2 separate regions of the Homo sapiens genome follow, and region 2 is linked to region 1. The links are contacts of gene promoters, found by promoter capture Hi-C in blood cells and fetal thymus (Javierre and others, 2016). All regions are on one chromosome and are shown on one strand. Each heading gives the region's core, a stretch centred on a gene start or on the middle of the fragment in contact. The rest is flanking DNA. Distances are from core to core; before and after follow the strand shown.

What was found. Contacts are between HindIII fragments. The CHiCAGO score rates a contact against its expected background, and 5 or more counts as called.
Region 2: a contact is called between a fragment that was not itself captured here and the fragment with the promoter of MRPS9 in region 1, in 1 of 17 cell types (fetal thymus). The highest score is 5.1, in fetal thymus.

The regions. Positions count from the first base shown.
Region 1 is chr2:105,036,808-105,039,507 of GRCh38, reverse strand. It overlaps MRPS9 (mitochondrial ribosomal protein S9), which reads right to left and starts at 1,439. Exons shown (of 11, transcript NM_182640.3): 1 at 1,281-1,439. The coding sequence starts at 1,415. MRPS9-AS2 (MRPS9 antisense RNA 2) reads left to right here and starts at 1,012. Exons shown (of 3, transcript NR_110603.1): 1 at 1,012-1,054. RefSeq lists enhancers at 457-1,399, 1,153-1,482, 1,653-1,702, 1,753-1,802, 1,823-2,032. The HindIII fragment of the contact is 6,591 bases long and covers 1-2,700 here.
Region 2 is chr2:105,739,806-105,742,505 of GRCh38, reverse strand. No RefSeq gene overlaps it. Among named protein-coding and RNA genes, the nearest start is that of NCK2, 3.8 kb to the left of the region's middle. The HindIII fragment of the contact is 930 bases long and covers 821-1,750 here.

The sequences.
Region 1 (2,700 bases), core at 190-2,689:
GAAGAATAGATACCAGGAGGGACAGAAAGTTAGCCATCCCCCAATACATACATTAAATGTCAACAATAAAAATACTCTGTATGATATAGTCCCTCTCATAATCATGCGTATGTAGCAAAGATATACTCAAAGAGATGCATGAAAAAATAAAAATTTCTAGCACATTTTCCAGTAAGAAAAAAAAAAAAAACAAATGTCCACATGAATAGATAGAATGGACTGGTTGATCTAGATTAAAATATAAAGGAAAGAACATACAAAAAGATGTTTTTTTTTTTAAATATAGTTTTTAAAGTATGGTATTTGACTTTCCTGCAATAATTGGTACTTGTTATCACTCTCCCTCCTTGAAACATTCACCTGTTTTCCATGACACCACACTGGCTGGTTTCTCTCCTGCTTCTTTGGTCCCTCATTCTCAATCTCTTGAGGCCTCTTATTTCTTATTTGTCCTTCAGGGCCCTGTCCCTCTGCCTACTCCTCAGTACACTCTCCCTAGGTAATTTAATTTGTTTACAAGGCCTCAGTTACCATTTACAAGGTAACAGGGCATTTCGAAATCAGTTCTCCTCCTGAGCTATACACTTGACTATCCGTAGACCTACTGGAAATCCCAGATGCCTAAAAACATAATCCCATACTAAACTCGTTTCTTCCCTCTCAAATCTTTTTCCTGCTCTGAGATCGCATGTCAGTAAACTGGCATCATCAGCCATCCAGCTGTTGACTCCCCACTTCTCCCTGGATTAAACGAAACGTACAAGTTCTGGCCTGCATCTTTCCATAGAGGGGGATTCGGGAAAATTAAGAAGCCAGAAATTGCGCATATTGAAGGCACTTTCAAAAAGTCACTGTCCTCTACACAACGTGACTTTCTCCATTGTCTTCCAGGCACCTGCAGGAATCCAATTCCCATCATTCTTCTCTGGCGCGGCCCTCCTCCTCCCTAGACAGCAGGGCAGGGTAGGACTGGACCCAACACAGACCTAGGCACCGACCCTTACTTAGCTCAGCAGCCAAATGAAGGAGGAGGTCGCTCCACTTCTACCTTCAGGTAAGTTCCCCTCGCTGCACCCCGCAAAAAAACAAGTAACAACCTCTAGAGCGGCTACTGCACGCCAATACCCACCTCCTCCCCCCCAACCTCAGACCTCCACTAAATACCTAAGATCCTAGAGTCCCTGCCTGAAGGCACGCGAGACGCTGGGGGAAGGTGTCCGCGCTGGCTCCACATCCTCGCGCGGCAGAGGTAAGCCGCTTCCAGTCTTCCCAGGCCTTACCTGGGATCTGACATTTGTTTGCAACTCAGGGGCCGCGGTTTTCCAGAGGCCTTGCTTCCGGGCGAGGCTACCCCTACCCCAGAGAAGAAGCCGGTACGAAACTGCTCCGCCGTAGGACACACAGGGCGCCGCCATGTTAGCTGTGGGAGCTCCAGGACCGGAGGGGTGAGGGGGCGGGGCCTAGAGACGGCGCAGGCGCTAATGGCGCGGGGTTCCAGAGGCTGTCCTGTGCAAGAGCTTCTCGGGCCTTTGGATCAGGGGGCGTGTCCCGCGATCCGCGACAGCTCGTCGCTGATTGGGTGCATGGTGTCCGCGGGGCGTATCCGACTCCACCCCTGCTCGGTGTCGACCTCAAGAAGGATCGCTGGTGGGTCGTTTTTCTCGGCCTCTTTCTCTTCACGTCCTGAACTCAGTCTCTTCGGGACTCACTTCCACGCTCTCCTAGTCTCTTTGGCACTCACATCCACGTGGCGCTTTAGCCAGCCCTTCCTTCCCAGCCCCCTTGCTGCACCTCGAGCCGGCTCTTCCTCCACCTGGGCAGGGCGGCCGGGGCCCCAGATGCGCTCCAAGCCTTGATTCCTGTCTGCCTTATCCTAGTAGGGGTTTTCCCCTCCTCTAACTTTCCACGTTCGTCTGGTTCCAAGTCAAGACTCTCCTGCAGCAACTGTCAAGCCCCTCTCGGTTCCCTGGCACTCTCCTGCGTTGTTTCTTAACTGTATAATGCACAGGATAAACCTTAAACCGGTAAGGTCAAACACTACCTTTCTCGTTTTTGCACGCCCCTCCCTAAGCGTTGGTACTAAGCCTTACTTGAAACCCAATCAGAACTGATTAATTGTTGAATAGAGATGAGTATGTCTTGCTTTCTGAAACTTGCGTGCTCCTGGCAGTTAACTCCCAGGTTGCTTTCTACGAAACACATACTAAATGATGTAGTAACGCACTTTAAAAGGGTTTACACACACTTAGATTTGAAGGGTCAGTAAAAGTAAAACACACAGAAAATCTGAGATCATACAAAGTTGTCAAGCAAATAAATGCCGTCTACTATCACCATCATTTCACGAAACAGAACTTTTTAGCATTAAAAAGGTAGAATGGCAGAATTTCACAATAAAGAAAAATCTTTTAAATGGAATACATTTACTTGTATAAAATGCTCATCCTGTTGTTCTTTTTGTTATTAGCTTTTAGACTAGCAAAAGATATCTTGAGAAATTGGCAGAGGTCGGAGGACTAAACTCTGATTTTTTTATCTTGCCCAAGATTCCTATCTACAGGATTTGGGGAGTCATGCCCTACAAATCATAAATTCTTATTAGATGGGTTTTACTTAACCCTATATATGGTGACTTACTTTCCAACCTGACTCTGGCATAACATTACAAGACAAGGAAGAAAATCAAAATATTTTACCCCA
Region 2 (2,700 bases), core at 36-2,535, 700 kb before region 1:
ATATCATCTCTAATCCACACACAATAGTATTATACCCATTTTACAGATGAAATCACTTGAACAGTGGATCAAAGAACTGGGGTCAGAGCATGTACCTGACTCCAAAACTCTTGTTCAATTCCCCACAACTACTGCCTTCCAACTGGTCTCCCATTACTTCCTTCTTAAATCCCTCAGACTCACACTGGACATCAATGTCATCCTAACCTTCCTGTAAATTGTTTCCATTTGTCCCTGGTTGTGCTCAAGAACTTCTCATGGCTCCCCATTGCCCACCACAGTCTCCTCAAAAGTTATCTGATGACTGAAGACTGAGCATTTTCCCCCAGAGAGGCTGGGGTATTTAGCCCTTAGAGGCCTGTGTTCGTTTCCTGGGGCTGCCTTAACAAATGACCCCAAACTAGGTGACAAAACAGAGGTTATTTTCTCAAAGTTCTGGAGTTCAGAAGTCTGATATCAAGACACCAGCCTCTCTCCAAAGTCTGTAGAGAACAATCCTTCCCTGCCTCTTCCAGCTTCTGGTGGCTGCAGACATTCCTTGGCTTGTGGCAGTGTCACTCCCACCTCTGCCTCTCTGTCTTCACACAACCTGGTTCCCTGTGTCCTTTCCCTTCTCTCTTTTTGTAAAGACAAGTATCATTGAATTTAGGGCTCACTCTAATCCAGCATGATGTCATCTCGACATCCTTATCTTACAACATCTGCAAAGACCTTTTTTCCAAATAAGGTCGCGTTCTCGGCTTCCAGGTGAACATATCTTTTGGGGCCAACATCCAACCCACTGCAAGGCTTAACATGGGGGAGACATTTCTTTGAAGCTTATGTTTTATCTAAAAATATATAGGTTTTTCTGCATTCTACTCCATTAATGTGTCCACATCTGTTTTACTGTCTTCAATCACAAAGTATTGAAAGCATAAAAAACATGGAGTGGAAGGAGGTGCAGTAAACTTTTGCCTAAAATCACATCAGCATTACATCTTATGATCTCTCTTCCAAAGGCCTCTCCAACTTAGCCCTGCCATACAATCTCCTTTTTACCTCTGTCCAGTATAAGCTGTTTGCTTCAGTCACTCAGCTCTGCCCACAGTGCCACATTGAGTCACACTAGTTTCAGCCTTCTGTGGTGTGAAGGCAGCTAGGAATTCCCTGTCCCCGTCCTTCTCTTTCAGAGCTCCATTCAAGGCCTTCTCTAACCCCTCCTTAGACTCACGGAAAACACAAAGCAAGGTTGAGGGTGTTGTCCAAGTCATACGTCAGAGGCTCAAAGCCTACCTTGGAGCCTGTGCCTTGGGGTCATTTCACCTCTCTGAGCCTCAGATATTAATAGTGCTCTTGCAAAGCGTTGTGAGAATTAAAGGAGATAATATAAACATGTCTCAACTGTGTGTTCAGCACATGGTAAACACTCATGTCTCCTTTCTCATGACCTTCTCTTGTAACCCTCAATTCAATTAAGCATATCTGGTGTAGTTCTATTTGTAAGGCATTATAAGATCCACTTCAGGATTCATTCATTTGGTGCAGACACCAAAGAACACCTGGATGTGCAAAGAGCAGATATAAGATTGCATTATTCAGAGAGGTTATAACGCAAACTGGAGTGGAGTGAAAGGATGGGAAAATAGTTTAGGAGAAATGGAGAGGAAAGACCCAAAAGGAAGGATGAAACCAGCATACAAATAACTATAATATAAAACTAAATATGAACAGTACCAAAGAAAATATGTCTAGAGAATCAGGAGAAGCTTTAGGCTTTATGAAAGGTGGTGGCATTGGCAATGACCTTGAGAGATTACATGGTGGGAAGCTGCCTTTAATTTGGCTGCCCCCCTCTCTAGCCCCTTCCTGGTTTTAGAGAAGCCTGTCTGAACCCTGGAGGGAGGCAGAGTAGGCACCTTGGTCCCTCCATTCCCAGAAGCCCTGTGAGAGTGAACAGCCTGGGATTGGCCAATGGAACCCTCCCACTCAAGACTGTGAAACTGGAGAGGGTGAAAAGGACAAGAGAGGGTGAGATTCAATTTGCCATGGCTGAAATAGTCCCAGCACATCCCTCCCACAGGAATTAGCCAGCTCCATTCTCACCCCTTCTGCTCTCCAGTTCCCCTGTGAGCTACTTGATATTCTTCTAGTAAATTCTCCTATTCTGCTTAAGGTACCCAGAGGCACTTCCTCTTTTTGGAACCCAAACCCCTGAATAATGCAAATGGTAGGATTTTGAAAGGTGGAGATAGACAGGGAGAAAATTCCCAGCGGCAGGAGTTCAGAACTCTGAGGCAGACAGGGGGACGTGGGAGGACCCTGTAGGGACAGAGAATGGCCCACTTGCCTAAATGGAGCAGAGGCTGCACAGAGCGGATCGCGAGGCCAAGAAGGAAAGCAGTTAAGTGTGGACATCATCTGGGCTCAGCCCAGGAACACTCATTTGGTGCATGCACGGAAGGACAGCTGGAGACAGGAAGAGCAGACAAAAGTTCGCATTTCCAAGAGAGTTCATAACCCCAACTGGGGTGGAATGAGTAGATGGGAAAGTGTTTTAGGAGAAATGGAAGGGGAGGCTCAAAATGAATTGGCAGCTGCTTGGATGTGGGGGACCAAAGAGAAAGAGAATGGGGCACAAATATAACCTGAGGCTTTGGATGTGGGAAACTGCAAAGACAACGGTGCCGAGATCAGAAACAGAAAAGTGGGGAGGACTGG